3 separate regions of the Homo sapiens genome follow, and regions 1 and 2 are each linked to region 3. Evidence: promoter capture Hi-C in human tissues and cell types (Jung and others, 2019). All regions are on one chromosome and are shown on one strand. Each heading gives the region's core, a stretch centred on a gene start or on the middle of the fragment in contact. The rest is flanking DNA. Distances are from core to core; before and after follow the strand shown.

What was found. Contacts are between HindIII fragments. The study calls those that stand out against the background at their distance.
Region 1: a contact is called between a fragment that was not itself captured here and the fragment with the promoter of FOXD1 in region 3, in 2 of the 25 tissues and cell types used here (IMR-90 fibroblasts and thymus).
Region 2: a contact is called between a fragment that was not itself captured here and the fragment with the promoter of FOXD1 in region 3, in 4 of the 25 tissues and cell types used here (H1 embryonic stem cells, hippocampus, mesenchymal stem cells and 1 more).

What each region holds. Positions count from the first base shown.
Region 1 is chr5:73,508,910-73,511,636 of GRCh38, reverse strand. It overlaps the pseudogene FUNDC2P1. Among named protein-coding and RNA genes, the nearest start is that of BTF3, 12 kb to the right of the region's middle. The HindIII fragment of the contact is 4,146 bases long and covers 1-2,727 here.
Region 2 is chr5:73,481,240-73,483,939 of GRCh38, reverse strand. No RefSeq gene overlaps it. Among named protein-coding and RNA genes, the nearest start is that of LINC01386, 9.6 kb to the right of the region's middle. The HindIII fragment of the contact is 5,309 bases long and covers 1-2,700 here.
Region 3 is chr5:73,447,348-73,450,047 of GRCh38, reverse strand. FOXD1 (forkhead box D1) reads left to right here and starts at 1,271. Exons shown (of 1, transcript NM_004472.3): 1 at 1,271-2,700. The coding sequence starts at 1,686. The HindIII fragment of the contact is 13,220 bases long and covers 1-2,700 here.

The DNA.
Region 1 (2,727 bases), core at 213-2,712, 61 kb before region 3:
ACATTATTTTGACTACCTCCCATTCATTTTTTGAATGGGTAGACTAATTACATTTAAACAATAATATCAGTTTAACTCATAGTATCCCCATGAAGTCAGCATAGAGAGTTACCCTTGCTCTCATTTCTAGCTAAGAAAATAATGGAGGGGGCTATATAACCAGCCCATGGTAAAGCTCAAGCCAGAGCCTATGCCTATGGACCCTCTCCCAGGCACCTTCCAGTACTTCTCCAGCAGTGGTGAGTGTATGCTTGTTTGCCCACATACAGTAGTATTACAAAAAAGAATGAGGGAGAATAAGAAAGAAAAGAGGGAGGAGAAATAATGGGCAAAAGAACAATGGTTACAGCTAAAGCTTCAGTCAAAAAAAGAACGATGGTAAGAAGCAGAAGAGGGAAGAGGGGCATGTTGTTATTAAAGCTGATGTTCATGGTCACGAATGCATGTGTCAACATTTAATACTTGTCTTATAAATCTTCCAGATTTAGGCCAGGCGCAGTGGTTCATGCCTGTAATCCCTGCAATTTGGGAGGCTGAGGCGGGAGGATCACTTGAGGTCAGGAGTTCAAGACCAGCCTGGCCAACATGGGGAAGTCCCGTCTCTAATAAAAATACAAAAATTAGCCGGGTGTGGTGACAGGTGCCTGTAATCCCAGCTACTAGGGAGGCTGAGGCAGGATAATCGCTTGAACCCAGGAGGCAGAGGTTGCAGTGAGCTGAGATGGCGCCACTGCACGCCAGCCTAGAGCGAAACTCCGTCTCGAAATAAATAAATAAATAAATATTTTCCAGATTTACCACATCGACAATGTAAGACAGCTTCACAGCAACTGGGCTTCTTGTGCGAGGACCTCAGCACTTGCTTGCCACCCTCCCAGCTGTGTAATGGCAAGTTGGATTGCAGTCAAGGGGAAGACGAACCTGCTACCCACTCTAGTAAGGCAGACAAGTAACCAAAATTTAAAAACAGTCACCAGCAACTAATCACTAAAATTCAGAATTATATGAAAACATTATTGTACGTGAATGCTTTCTATTAGAATTAATGCTTTTGTCTAATATAGGTCAAATGCCCAACAGTCTCCCACAAAACTTGATATTCAAGTGTCCCAACCAGAAGACTTGGACATATATGGACAAGGTGTGTGACACAAGAAATGACTGTGGTGATTGCTCAGATAAATCAGGTAAAAATGAAAATGTCATTAATTTTTTAATGGCTTCTTGGAGTGGCTACCCTTATACTTCAATTACATAAATTAACTCATCCTTACAAGCCTTCCTTAAGGATACATCCATGATTTTAAGATTCTGTCATTTCCAGTAGTTTGTGCATGTTTAAACTAGATGAATTCTCTAGCTAAGAATACAGCCAGTTCTGTAAGAATTACCAAAGGAAATAATCTTGACGGACAGCTCTTGTCTGCTATCAGATTCCTTCTATATTTCTTTACAAAGGTTGGTGAAGATCAAACAAAAATCTGTTGAGTGCTTTGGCTCTCAAAAATTTTTTTGTTTAACCTTTGCCATTTCCTTGCTTTTCCTCCCTCACTTTCCTCCTTCTCTCCTCCCCTCATTCTGTTCCTTACGGTAGTTTAATACTTGGCAGACACCTGATCACCCCACAATTTCATGAAAACATGGCAGAGGTGCAATTCCAATACCTCGTGGCCCCAGTTAGTAGTATCTGAAAGCCCTATCAGAAATACGCTAAATAGATAATTTCCTGCCCTTTGTCTGGTCATCGTGGAGGGTAGAAATAGAAATGCTAGGAATTACAGATAACAATGCTCTGACAAATAAAGACTAAAAGTATAAGGAGATCCTTTTCTTCTTGCTAGCTGCCAATTAGCAGTGATTCTTTTCCCTGCTGATTGAACATACAAACTCAAAGGGACCCTTTCTTTCTTTCTTTTTTTTTTTTCATGCTTAAAGGCAAATGTATTCAGTTCCTTTCCATGCAGCACACAATAAGGTTATCTATGTGCTTATTTCTTTTCCAAATCAACAGTTTGGGACAACCTTTCAGGATCCACTCATCCTCCACGGTCAGCCATCTTGCAATGTGTTCTCATAAGTGTCTTGCATGGGGGTAAAGGAACCTTCTTGTTGACCTACAGACTGACCTTCTTGTTGACCTACAGACTGACCAAGTAGGGGGTGTACTGGGAGGAGAGCTAAGGACTATTGTCTCTTCTGCCACCATCAAGCTCATGGTGCCACATTAATTTGTACCAGCAGAAGCTTATAGAAGCCACTCAGATTTGCCATGGCAGGCAGGAAGGCATGGGAGAAGGAGAGGAGGGACTCGATGTCCTACGATGGAGTGTAGAGGCTGCTGGCTGGAAAAAACCAGGAACAATGAACATGAGGTCATCTTCCTTAGGATGCCATGCCAAGCAGAAAGCCTCCGAAAAATCCCCCAGTCACTAGAACATTCTTCTTCACAAATGACACCACCTCCTCAGCTTTGCTCCTGACCTCAGTAGGTATCTGATTGCTCTTACGGATCTTCAGCTGCTCTTTGGCTTTCTTCATGTCCTTCTCCACTCGTTGCCAGTCAACTTTGATATACCCAGTATGGTTTGCAAGCTGAAGGAGAGAAAATCCACCTCCCACAGCTGTTGCAGCCAACTTTCCAACCTTCTGGAATATGAAACCCATGCACCATCCAGTGACACCTCCAATGAACAGCTGGGTTGCCATGCTATACTTTTCTGCTGAAGG
Region 2 (2,700 bases), core at 74-2,573, 34 kb before region 3:
TCCCTAGGACAATAGCAAACCAAAAGCAACACTGCATTCCTGGAATGATTGCAGAGGTTAGTGCCACCAGCAAGGACTTAAAAGGATGTGGGGGTGTGATTTCCACTACATCCCTATTCAACTCACCTATTTGGTCTGTGCAGAAGACAGACGGATCTTGGAGAATGACAGTGGATTACTGAAAGTTTAACCGGGTGATGACTCCAATTGCAGCTGCTTTACCAGATATGGTTTCGTTGTTTGAGCAAATTAACTCAATCTCTGGTACCTGGTATGCAGCTATCAATCTGGTGCATATTTTTTCTCCATACCTGTTAGTAAAGACCATCAGAAGCATTTTGATTTCAGCTGGCAAGGCCAGCAATACACTGCCACTGTCCTTCTCAGGAGTCTATCAGCTCTCCAACACTATGTCATAATTTAGTTCACAGGGATCTTGCTCACCTTTTTTTTCCACAAGCTATAACAGTGGTCCATTGCATTGATGACATTATGCTGATTGGACTTAGTGAGGAAGAAGTAGCAGCTACTCCCTAGACTTATGGGTAAGATATTTGGATGCCAGAGGGTGGGAAATAAATTTGACAAAACTTCAGGTGCCTCCTACGTCTGTAAAATTTCTAGGGGTCCAGTGGTGTGGAGCATGTCGAGACATCCCTTCTAAGGTGAAGGAAAAGTTGTTGCATCTAGCCCCCTCCTACAACCAAGAAAGAGACACAATGCCTAGTGGGCCTCTTTGAATTTTGGAGGCAACATATTCTTCATTTGTGTGTGCTACTTGGCACGTTTACTGAGTGAGCTGAAAAGCTGCTATTTTTGAGTGATGTGCAGACGAGAGAAGGCTCTGCAACAGGTCCAGGCTGCTGTGCTAGCTGCTCTGCCACTTGAGCCATGTAATACAGCAGATCCAATTGTGCTTGAAGTGTCTGCAGAGAGAGATGCTGTTTGGAGCCTTTGGCAGGCCCCTACAGATGAGTCACTACACAAACCCTTTGGATTTTGAAGCAAAGCCCTGTCATCTTCTGCAGATAACTACTCTCCTTTTAAGAAATATCTCTTGATCTGCTACTGGGCCTTACTAGAGACTGAATGCTAAACCATGGGCCACCAGGTTACCATGCAACCTGAGCTGCTTATCATAAGCTGGGTGTAATCTGACCCATCAGGCCATAAAGTCGGGTATGGAGAGCAAGAGCCCATCATCAAATAGAAGTGGCGTATACATGATCATGTTTGAGTAGGCCTTCAAAGCACAAGTAAGCTACATGAAGTGGCCCAAATGACCATGGCCCCCACTTCTATTATATCATTTTATCTCTCCCAGCCTGCATCTATGGCTTAATGGGGAGTTTCCCACAAGTTGACAGTTCACAGACAAAGAGAAGACTTGGGCCTGGTTTACAGATGGTTCTGCACGATATGCAGGCACCACCTTAAAGTGGACAGCTGCAGCACTACAGCCCCTTTCCAGAACTTCTCTGAAGGACAGTGATGAAGAAAAATCCTCCCAGTGGGCAGAACTTTGAGAAGTGTACCTGGTTGTTCACTTTGCTTGGAAAGATACATGGCCAGATATGTGATATATACCAATTCATGGACCACGGCCAGTGGTTTGGCTGGGTGATCAGGGACTTGGAAGGAACGTGATTAGAAAATTGAAGGACAAGAAAATTTGGGAAAGAAGTATATAGATAGATCTCTCTGAATTAGCACAAAAAAAATGGAAGATTTTTATGTCTCATGTGAATTCTCAACAAAGTGTGACCTCAGCAGAGTAGGGTTTTAATAATCAAGTGCATAAGATGACCCAGTCTGTGGATCCCAGTCCGCCTCTTTCCCAGCCACCTTGTCATTGCCCAGTGGGCTCATGAACAAGGTGACCGTAATGGCAGGGATGGAGGTTATGCATAGGCTCAGCAACATAAACTTCCACTCACCAAGGGCATCCTAGCTATGGCCACTGCTGAATGCCCACTGTGCCAGCAGCAGAGACCAATACTGAATCCTCAATATGGCACCATTTCCTGGAGTGATCAGCCAGCTATCTGGTGGCAGGTTGATTACACTGGATCACTTCCATCATGGAAGTGGCAGCATTTTGTTCTTACAGGAATAGACACTCTGGATATGGATTTGCCTTTCCTGCATGCAATGGTGTGATCTTGGTTCATGCAGCCTCCACCTCCAGGGCTGAAGTGATCCTCCCACCTCAGTGTCCAAAGTAGCTGGGACTGTAGGTGAACACCACCACACCTGACTAATTTGTTAAATTATCTGTAGAGAAGGGGTCTCCCTATGTTGTTCAGGCTGGACTCGAACTCCTGGTCTTAAGTGATCTTCCCACCTCAGCCCCCCAAAGTGCTGGAATTACAAGATTGAGCCACTGTGCCTGGCCTCACACAGCATTGCTTCTAAACAAGGAACCCCCCTCACAGCAAAAGAAGTGTGGCAATAGGCCCATGCTTGTGGAATTCACTGTTTTTACCGTGTTTCTCACCAGTCTGAAGCAGCTGGTTTGATAGAATTGTAGAATGACCTTTGGAAGATTGAGTTACAGCACTAGCTAGGTGGTGATACCTTGCAGGGCTTGGGCAAGGTTCTCTGGAAGGCTGTATATGCTCTGAACCAGCATCTAATAGCTGGTGGTGTTTCTCCTCTAGCTAGGATTCATAGGTCCAGGAATCATGGTGTAGAAATGGG
Region 3 (2,700 bases), core at 22-2,521:
TCCACTATCTTGTCACCCGAAAAGAAAACTGAATTGAGCGGAACTTTAATCTCATAAAAAAAATTTTCATCTCACCAGAAAGGATTAACAATATTTAAGGATTTTCCAAAAACACATTTTTAAAAAGTTTATCTTAAAGTCATCTATCATTATAGTTTCTATTAATAAGCCTCAGTAGAAATATGTATATGTTATGTAATTTAAGTATTTTGAGATTACTATGCAAAGTGCTGACTAGAATGTTCCTCCTACTGAGAACTATATAGCCCCATTATGAACGAACTTCTGTTTTTTTTTTTTTTTTTTGAGGCGGAGTTTCGCTCTTGTTGCCCAGGCTGGAGTGCAGTGGCACGATCTCGGCTCACTGCAACCTCCGCATCCCGGGTCCAAGCGATTCTCCTGCCTCGGCCTCCCGAGTAGCTGGGATTACAGGCGCCGCCTACTAATTTTTTTCTATTTTTAGTAGAGACGGGGTTTCACCATGTTGGCCAGGCTGGTCGAACTTTTTAGTAGTTTCTAGGTGCAATTTTTGTGCGTGTATTTGGGTTTTCACTAAAAATTTCAATTTCTTCTCCGAATTCAATTATTACGTTCTTTATTCCCATGACATTTGTCAGATCGTCTCATTAGAGTGGCTTAGTTTAACTGTCAAGTCTCTAGGGCATTCAATCGCAGAGAAGTGAGTAAAACGCCAGTCTCACAGCGTTTTTATTAACAGATGGCGGAAAACAAACGTCTTTGGAGTAAAACCGAAGAGAATGGGTTAAAGGGTCAATAAACAATTATTATCGTGCTTAAATTGGGGGGCTTCGCATCAGATCCAATGGGGGGCCGCTCGCCCGATCTGGAGGGGCTGGACACCCCCAACCGACCCCAGAGCGTCCCCCAGGGGCCACCTCAGAGGATGGGGTGGTTATCCCCCGGCTGGAAGGCTCCTACAGGCTGTCGAGGGGTCAAACCAGAGTGTCGCGGGTGTGCTTCTGAGGTTAGGGTGGAGGACTAATTGAGGAGGCTGGGAAGTCTAACTCGTGCAGCGGCCCTCGGTGCAGACAGCCGCGTAATTCGGGCATCAGCCTCTTTGGCAAGAAATAGTGAGGTCCCCTCTCCTCCCCACTCTTCTCAGCTGCTGCCTCCCTCCTACGGGTGAATTTTCTCTCCCGAGAAGGGCTGATTTCCTAGGCTTGCTTTCCTTCCCTCGGCAGCGCTCTGACGTGCACACCATGTGACAGGCCCCCTTCTGCTATAAGCCGAGGAAGGTCCGCCCTCTCCTGGACTCAGCCCTGGCCTCGCCGAGCTCTGTTCTTAGACTCTCACCCGTCCCGCACGTTCCTGGGCGCCTGGCGTTCTGATTCGCCCGCCCGGGCCCCGCCACCCCCTCCTCAGCTGACGGGGCAAAAGCTGCTCCGAGAGGAGAAGGTCAAGTCCTCCGCCCGGGCCGGGCGCGAGCGGAGCCCAGGGAGCGCAGCATCCGCGCGGCTACCGCGGCGGCGCAGGAGTTATAAAGTCGGCGCGCGAGACTCCGCCGCCACCCGGCAGCCCCGGCGCAGCTCCGGCAGCCGCAGTCGCAGCGCCCCCAGCGTGGCGCCCCCCGGCCGGGCCTGCCGCCCGGGACCCGGGCTGGGGCGCAGAGGGAGCCCGGAGCCCGGCGCCCCCATGCGCCGCCCCGCCGCCGCCGCGCCACAGCTATGACCCTGAGCACTGAGATGTCCGATGCCTCTGGCCTCGCCGAGGAAACAGACATCGACGTGGTGGGGGAGGGCGAGGACGAAGAAGACGAGGAAGAGGAGGACGACGACGAGGGCGGCGGTGGCGGGCCCCGGCTGGCTGTCCCCGCGCAGCGGCGGCGGCGGCGGCGCTCGTACGCCGGGGAGGACGAGCTGGAGGATCTGGAGGAGGAGGAGGACGACGATGACATCCTGCTGGCCCCGCCTGCTGGGGGCTCCCCGGCGCCCCCGGGCCCGGCCCCGGCGGCGGGGGCAGGAGCCGGTGGGGGCGGCGGCGGCGGCGGCGCGGGCGGCGGCGGGAGCGCGGGTAGCGGCGCCAAGAACCCGCTGGTGAAGCCGCCCTACTCGTATATCGCGCTCATCACTATGGCCATCCTGCAGAGCCCCAAGAAGCGGCTGACGCTGAGCGAGATCTGTGAGTTCATCAGCGGCCGCTTCCCCTACTACCGGGAGAAGTTCCCCGCCTGGCAGAACAGCATCCGCCACAACCTCTCGCTCAACGACTGCTTCGTCAAGATCCCCCGCGAGCCCGGCAACCCGGGCAAGGGCAACTACTGGACGCTGGACCCGGAGTCCGCCGACATGTTCGACAACGGCAGCTTCCTGCGCCGGAGGAAGCGCTTCAAGCGGCAGCCGCTGCTCCCACCCAACGCCGCGGCCGCCGAGTCTCTGCTGCTGCGCGGCGCGGGAGCCGCAGGGGGCGCGGGCGACCCGGCAGCCGCCGCCGCGCTCTTCCCGCCCGCGCCCCCGCCGCCCCCGCATGCCTACGGCTACGGCCCCTACGGCTGCGGCTACGGCCTGCAGCTGCCGCCTTACGCGCCGCCCTCGGCCCTCTTCGCCGCCGCAGCGGCCGCCGCCGCCGCCGCCGCCTTCCACCCGCACTCGCCCCCGCCGCCCCCGCCACCGCACGGCGCGGCCGCCGAGCTGGCCCGGACCGCCTTCGGCTACCGGCCGCACCCGCTCGGCGCCGCCCTAC